Linked DNA regions of Homo sapiens: region 2 is linked to region 1. The links are contacts of gene promoters, found by promoter capture Hi-C in human tissues and cell types (Jung and others, 2019). All regions are on one chromosome and are shown on one strand. Each heading gives the region's core, a stretch centred on a gene start or on the middle of the fragment in contact. The rest is flanking DNA. Distances are from core to core; before and after follow the strand shown. Region 1 holds the start of ZNF460 (zinc finger protein 460). Region 2 overlaps ZSCAN22 (zinc finger and SCAN domain containing 22).

Region 1 (3,752 bases), core at 599-3,098:
AGACAATATGGGCCCATCTGGAGATTACATCTATCCTGGCTGAGTAGGAGGGTACATTCAGCAACATAACCATACAAACGTGCCCTCTCAGAATATGTCAGCAGGTAAGGGAGTAAGGGGAACCACATATAAAACCACCGTGGAAGCCACACAGGTCCCCTGAGAACTCCTTAAACAACCAATATACCATTTTTTAAGTCTACACAGTTCCACCAGTATGAAAGGCCATGACTCCTCATGCCCAAGATCACTGGCTAGAAGGAGGCCTCATCTTGCAAAGGTTACTTTAGGTCTCACCCCCAGGCCTCCCTAACCACTGCGGGTAAAGAAGAGGGTAAAAACACAGGCTATGATGTTAGACACACCAGTTGTTAGTTTCTGACTTAAGAAACTTAAGAGCTACAGTGATGTAAGGCAGGTAATTGGACGTATGTGACCCTCAAATTGCTCTTGTGTAAAACAATGATGACAACAGAACCTAATTCTAAAGAGTAATCCCAGCACTTTGGGAGACCCAGATGGGTGGATCACCTGAGGTCAGGAGTTCAAGACCAGCGTGGCCAACACGGTAAAACCCCGTCTCTACTAAAAATACAAAAATTAGCCAGGCGTGGTGGCGCACACCTGTAGTCCCAGCTACTCAGGAGGCTGAGGCAGGAGAATCGCTTGAACCCAAAAGGCGGAGGTTGCAGTGAGCCGAGGTCACGCCACTGCACTCCAGCCTGGGCGACAGAACAAGACTCCGTCTCAAAAAAAAAAAAAAAAAAAAAAAAAAATTTCAGGGTTAAACGAACTGAGGGTTAAATAATACTCACCGATCAGCCCACAGCAAGGACTCAATGACAGTTAATATCATTCTTTGCAATTATTTTTCTTTGTTCCCATTACATCCTTGACAAACTCAAATCCACAAGCTTCTTTAATACCATCAGATTATCTACACAAAAATACCAGACTCTGGGCAAGGGTGTAAGGTGCCACTTTAGCCGGAATTGCCAAAAAAGGCACCTCCAAATAGGTGACACCTGGACAGATGCCAAAAGGATGTGAAAGGGAGGCCCTGCAAAGTTACAGGGGCAGTGTTCGAAGTAAAAGGAAGTGCAAGGAGAAAGCCTGGAAAATGGAAGAGGACTGCACGGTCAGGTTGGTGGCTCTGAAGAGCAAAGGACCAGGGAAAAATGCAAACAGACAAGGTCAGGGGTGGTTGGCCAGGTGGATGGGGTACGGGCTGGCAGGCAACAGAGAAGGTTGGATTTAGGGGAAGTGTGATGAGATCCCTAGAAGGAAGCATCACTCCTTCAACCACGGACTGAACACCTATCAGAGGCCAACACTGTTGCAGGACTGCGGATAAAGGAAATGACAAGCCACGGCCATTTCTCTTAAATAAACGATGGCGACAAAGAAAAATCCTGTGGCTGTCTTGGCTTCCAGCCTGCCCACGAGGCCTCTAGAAATAGCACAGCAGCAGCAAGGCCGAAACCTCGTCCACTCACCTGCGCCGGAGCCATCCACGCCGCCGCCATCCCGGGAATGCCGCGGATCAGCCGACCACAGCCCTTCTCTGTCCTGGGCGGGGCGACCTCGGCTGACTTTCGCACTCCGAGCCTCAGTTTTCCCCCGAAAAAAATGCGCACAAGGCCCAAGGCGCAGCGTCGGGGCTGAGGAGACGGAGGGCGGCTGCGGAGGCCTAGGCCTCGGCGGGCGCCGGTGGGACACCTCGTTAGGGGAGAAGCGGGGCGTCAGGCTCCCGCCAAGACGCGAAGAAGGGGCGTAACCGCTTCACTACCCGTCCCTGCTCAGGCCGCAGAACGCGCCCACCCAGCGCTCTAGGCCCCACACTGTTTCAGGGCCAAACCGGCCCACGGAGATGACGTCACACGAAGAAGCGGAAGTCCCGCCTCCGCCGCCCTGGCCCGCAGAAAACTCTCCTGTCCTGGGTCGTCAATGGCCCAGAGTCCGCGGCCGACGCAAGGGGCAGTGCCTTCTGGGTAATGCAGTTTTTCCCTTACATCTACCGGGTGTGGGAACTCACCCAGCGCATCCGACTGCACGTAAGTGCGCACCAGAACCCCCGCGTCGTCTTAGGGCCACCGCCTTAGTATAGGCACAAGTCGGAGGGTCGAAAGGTCCCTTCTAGCTCAGGAAAATCGAGGTCAGGAGGCGGGGATATTCGCCCCGATTCAGACCCCGAACAAAGGTGCTTACCCTGCTGTGGGCTGGGCCCGCGACTTCTCGCTTGCTTTGCCTCTTTTCTGGATCTTTTCATAGAAGAAAAGGATAAATGAGCAGTTAAAATAGCCACCCAAAGGAGGACGCCTGACAGTGTGCCCAGCCTGCTGGGAAAGGACAGACCGCCCTCTATTGGGCCTCCTTTGGCCGGGCCCAGCCTTCGTAGGATGCAGGGACTTCCGGGTGATGTAATAGGCTTCGCGTTCGCCACGTGTGGACTTCCCGTACCCTGAGGTGGGGAGGCTGCTAGTGGAGCAGGCTTGCCGGGAAGCCCAGTACTCCCATTTCAAGCATGATCAGTTTGAAACGTCAGTAAGACCACAAAGCGTAGTGCCATATACTCAACCTATGATTCAACATTGGCAGAGGGTTCGAGCGTGGATATATAAATTTGGGAGTTATTACTGTAAACTGTTACTTCAAGTCATGATATTGGGTGAGGCTATGAAAAGAATGAGCGTAGATGGATAAGTGACGGGAAAGAGGGGAACCCTGGCCCAACCCAGCATTAACTGGTTGCAGACAGGAGAGTTTATAAAGTCTTGTTAGGAATTTTAACAATCCTAGACTATGCAAAGATTATATTATGCGAAGTCTTAGGAGTCCCCATCAGTAACTTTTTTTTTTTCTTTTCATGACTATGAAAGTGAGAGAATAAAGTCCAGCTTTCAATGGTTTGACGATATATATGGTTAAGGAAATAGAAAGGTGTGCAGAAAGTACTCTCCAAGAGATTTAATTTTGAGATTGAAAATAGTCAAGGAATGGAGATGGAGTCAATTTCCTACACGATGCGGTACTTTTGGAGAAATATTTTTGGCTAAATTAGTGTGCAAGGAACACTGTTATTCATCACTGGCAATAGTAATTTTTGAAAATTGATAAAGACATCATTCTCTTTTTCACATATTTGTGACTCTTAAATTTTTTTTTTTTTTTTTTTTTTTTGAGATGGAGTTTCACTCTTGTTGCCCAGGCTGGAGAGCAGTGGCACAGTCTCCACTCACTGCAACCTCCGCCTCCCGGGTTCAAGCGATTCTCCTGCCTCAGCCTCCTGAGTAGCTGGGATTACAGGTGTGCGCCACCACGCCTGGCTAATTTTATATTTTTAGTAGAGACAGGGTTCTTCCATGTTGTTCAGGCTGGTCTCAAACTCCCGACCTCAGGTGATCCACCCACCTCGGCCTCCCAAAGTGCTAGGATTACAGACGTGAGCCACCCCCTCTGGCCAGACTCTTATAATTAAATTTAAATGGTTTTTTCAGAGGCATATGAACCAGAGCAACTCTATCTTAAATAGGAGCTGGGTAAAATGAAGCTAAAACCTACTAGGCTGCATTCCCAGACAGTTAAGGCATTCTGAGTCACAGGATGAGATAGGAGGTCAGCACAAAATACGGATCATAAAGACCTTGCTGATAAAACAGGTTGCAGTAAAGGAGCTGGCCAAAACCACCAAAACCAAAATGGTGACAAGAGTGACCTCTGGTCTTCCTCACTGCTACACTCCCATCAGTGCC
Region 2 (4,093 bases), core at 1,199-3,698, 1.1 Mb before region 1:
ACTGCACTCCAGCCTGGGCGACAGAGCGAGACTCCATCTCAAAAAAAAAAAAAGAAAAGAAAAGAAAAAGAAAAAGAAGAGGAGGGTTCCAGGCACAGGTACAAAGGCACATAAGTGGGAAAATGTATGGCTCCTTCAGGGACCACAGTAGTTCCGTGTGGCTGGTGTATGGAAGGTGGAGCCATGGTATGAGATGAGGCCATTTTCACTGCACGCACAGAAAAATGACAGTATTCATACATGCATATGAGGATAACTGGAGAGGTTGCTCGGGGCCCAGAGCAGCCTGCATCTCAGCATACTTATACCCTGTTCAGGAAGCTGTGCTGTAGAAGATGGGTTGGAGAGCTTTCCACCTTGGAGTGACACAGTCAGATCTAAGTAATATCAAGAGTCCCCTGGAGAGTGATACAGGGGCAGAGAATAAAGGCAGGAAGTGGTCAGGAAGGAGACCCCGGCTATAATCCAGGCAAGAGGCAATGAGGGCTCACATAAGGTAGCAGTGGTGGAAAAGGAGGTGAATTACAGATAAGCTTTAGGTTAAAACAATAGCGCTGGTGACTGGTGGGATGTGGAAGGAAAAGGAGAGACAGGAACATGCTGGGCAGGTGTCAAGCAGCACCACTGATTACGACAGGAAACCATGAGAGAGGCAGAGTGTAGAAAAGGCATCGTGGAAGAGGCAGTCTCAAAAGTCAGCCTTGCAGTTAGGCACAAAATAGTCTGGAGTGGAAATAGTAGGTGCCAAGGCACAGAGGTGGGCATGGCAGGTGTCCGTTCTGGGCTAAGCAGCAGAAAAGCAGGCAAGAAGAACCACATGAGAACAAGCTACAGTTGGCCCGCCCAGAGCGTCTTGGGACGCTGAGTTCTGAGAGACATGCGCCTTCATTTGCCCTGGCCCTCAGAACCAGTCTAAATCCTCAGTTCGGCTGCCTTCTCTCTGGGACAGCCCTGAGTGGGAAATAGAGGGTAGCAGTGCAGGGCCCTTCTGGAAGCTTCTCCAGCTGGCCTGAATCACCTTGTGCTCATCAGGGTTCCTCAAATGCAGAGTGGTTCCTAGACAGCCCGAGTCTGCCCTCAGGCACCTATCATTTTGACAACTCATCAATCACCCACCCTGTCTGTGGCTCTTCAGGAACTCAGCGTTTCTCTTAGACCTCGAGCCTCCGAGAAGACGCTGTGCTACGCCCCCAGGGGCGACTTCCGGTCATTGCAGCACCGTGATGTGGATCCGCAAGTGAACCATCAGGGCTGAGCTACGACTGAAGGCCTTCCCACAGTCGCTGCACTTATAAGGCTTCTCTCCCGTGTGGATCCTCTGGTGCTCAATGAGGGAGGAGCTCTGTGCAAAGGCCTTCGGACAAACCTTACACTGATATGGCTTCTCTCCAGAGTGGATTCTCAGATGTCGGATCAGGGCTGAGCAGTCGCTGAAGGCTCGGCCACACGCGTCACACTTGTAGGGCTTCTCCCCGGTGTGGATGCGCTGGTGTTGAGTCAGGTGCGTGCTCTGGCTGAAGGCTTTCCCACACGCGTCACACTCGTAGGGCCGCTCCCCCGTGTGCACCCGCTGGTGCTGGGTGAGGTGAGTGCTGCGGCTGAAGGTTTTACCACATTCCCCACATTTGTAGGGTTTCTCTCCAGTATGAATCCTTTGGTGCTGAGTCAGGTGGGTGACTCGGCTGAAGGCCTTCCCACATTCCTTACACTCATGGGGCTTCGCCCCTGTGTGGACAACCTGGTGCTGGGCGAGGTGAGTGCTCCGGCTGAAGGCTTTCCCACACTCGCTGCAGGCATATGGGGTCTTCCGAGAATGGGTCTTCTGGTGTGCCTCGAGCGCCGAAGCACTCTGGAACATCTTCCTACACTCGCGACACTTGGAGGACCTCTTCCCTGAGTAGGTGTATGGAGGCTCTGTCCCATAAGCATCCACCAGATCAAATTTGTCTTCTGAAGGAGGCTTCTCTTGGGAGGTGAGGTTTGGCCACGCACTAGAACTGTTCCTCGAGGCACCAGATTCACGGCCACGCTGGTCTGTGGGGACATCCTTGTAAGGCCCTGAAGTTTTCTTGAAGTGGATCTGTTGGGTGACAGACTTTGTCCAGATCTCCCCTGATAGTCCAGACCTCTCTGAGCTGCCCTCAGGTTCACATGCCTTGACAAAGGCGGGTCCAAGGGAAACACCTCCCATGAGGGTCTCAGTGACATTTGATGGCTCTGACTCTCCCAGGTCACTCTGCTTGCAGCTTGCCTCTGTGGGCTCGGCTCCTGGATCCCATCCTGAAACAGTCCGAACCACACTGTCACTCCTCCTACCACACCAAGCCTCCCCTACTCTGCCGAGGGCCCCGGTCACACTTTGTAAGGGGAGATGTGGCCCGTTCCTAACATCTGGCCCCAGTTCCAAGGGGAAGTTTCTCATTTGGTGTCTTGGATGACAAAGGGTGCAGGGCTGTCCTCCCACACCATCCAAAACTACACCATGGGTTCTGATTTCTCCTCCTCCCACCAAACTCGCCATCTTTCAAGGCTCCCAATTTTGGCTCAAGAGTCAAGAGGAGAAACCCTGATGTGGAACTGATCTGGAGACAGAGAGAGAGGGAGGGTCTGTCCTTGTCAGGACCCTGAGCACATGCACCCCTGCAGGCTCTGATCTCTGTGGGGTTGCAGTTCTGTCCCTCACACTCAACACCTTGCGTCTAGGCCTGGATGTGTCCCCTGCAGGCTCTGATCTCTGTGGGGTTGGAGTTCTGTCCCTCACACTCGACACCTTGCGTCTAGGCCTGGATGTGTCCCCTGCAGGCTCTGATCTCTGTGGGGTTGGAGTTCTGTCCCTCACACTCGACACCTTGCGTCTAGGCCTGGATGTGTCCCCTGCAGGCTCTGATCTCTGTGGGGTTGGAGTTCTGTCCCTCACACTCGACACCTTGCGTCTAGGCCTGGATGTGTCCCCTGCAGGCTCTGATCTCTGTGGGGTTGGAGTTCTGTCCCTCACACTCGACACCTTGCGTCTAGGCCTGGATGTGTCCCCTGCAGGCTCTGATCTCTGTGGGGTTGGAGTTCTGTCCCTCACACTCGACACCTTGCGTCTAGGCCTGGATGTGTCCCCTGCAGGCTCTGATCTCTGTGGGGTTGGAGTTCTGTCCCTCACACTCAACGCCTTGCGTCTAGGCCTGGATGTGTCCCCTGCAGGCTCTGATCTCTGTGAGGTTGCGGTTCTGTCCCTCACACTCAACACCTTGCCTCTAGGCCTGGATGTGTCCACAGGTGCTCAGTGAATTCTGGCTGAATGAGGGAATCCATCCAGAAGCCCACGATGGTGAAAATTTCTGCAAGTAGAACCCCAGGTAGAATATGGCTGCTGGGGGTGAGTACATGAGGTACCCATCTGGCCTCTCAAGCCCCTACATTGTAAAGTACTATGAAGGCAGAGTGTGGCGGAGGTGCTCTTGGAGATCAGAGTGTGCATGAGGTAGAGGAATGCTCGCACTGACCTGCCCTGCATGGGTGCAAAGGACACATAATCTGGCACATCTACTGGATGGATTCCAGGGAGGAGGCAGAGACAGGTGGAATACCCACTGCTCAAGTCCACAGTGGGGCTCAGCAGTGCAGAAACTGGACTCAAACCCCAGGTCTACCACCTTAATCAGTCCTGCCCTCATCTGGGACTCAGTCTCCCCATCTGTAAGCCATGGATGCTGTGCCGCTGGCCTTCCAGGGCCACTAACCACTATCAGGCTCTTGTCGTGCTGGGCCCCAAGCACAGTGGGTGACTTCCATCGCCTCATTTCAGCTTCGACCTGCTCTCAGAAGGAGGTACTGCTGTGATTCTGTTGCAGATGGGGAAACTGAAATCCAGCTGAGGGAAGGTGTTGAGTAACTGGTACAGGATCACAGTTAGCTAGTGGCCCAGTTGGGATTTCAGCTCCAGAATGTTCTCCTCCAGGTCCACAGGCAGTCTCCCCTGCTCCCCCAGCCATCTGCTTGGCCCTGTCTCCCCCTTCCTTCCTCTATCCAGAAACATCACACCACCTGCTTTTACCAGAATACACCAGTGCAAATCACACTGCCAGGCCTTTGACCCCACCAT

What was found. The method cuts DNA at HindIII sites, captures the fragments that hold promoters and counts their contacts. A contact is called where the count stands out against the background at its distance.
Region 2: a contact is called between a fragment that was not itself captured here and the fragment with the promoter of ZNF460 in region 1, in 1 of the 25 tissues and cell types used here (aorta).

The regions. Positions count from the first base shown.
Region 1 is chr19:57,278,581-57,282,332 of GRCh38, reverse strand. ZNF460 (zinc finger protein 460) reads right to left here and starts at 1,848. Exons shown (of 3, transcript NM_006635.4): 1 at 1,497-1,848. The coding sequence starts at 1,526. ZNF460-AS1 (ZNF460 antisense RNA 1) reads left to right here and starts at 1,999. Exons shown (of 3, transcript NR_136529.1): 1 at 1,999-2,054. RefSeq lists enhancers at 367-486, 1,415-2,006, 1,390-2,589, 2,007-2,598, 1,713-2,652 and a silencer at 943-992. The HindIII fragment of the contact is 9,196 bases long and covers 1-3,752 here.
Region 2 is chr19:58,336,441-58,340,533 of GRCh38, reverse strand. It overlaps ZSCAN22 (zinc finger and SCAN domain containing 22), which reads right to left. Exons shown (of 3, transcript NM_181846.3): 3 at 1-2,280. The coding sequence ends at 1,208. Among named protein-coding and RNA genes, the nearest start is that of MIR6806, 3.8 kb to the right of the region's middle. RefSeq lists an enhancer at 1,522-2,023. The HindIII fragment of the contact is 3,367 bases long and covers 765-4,093 here.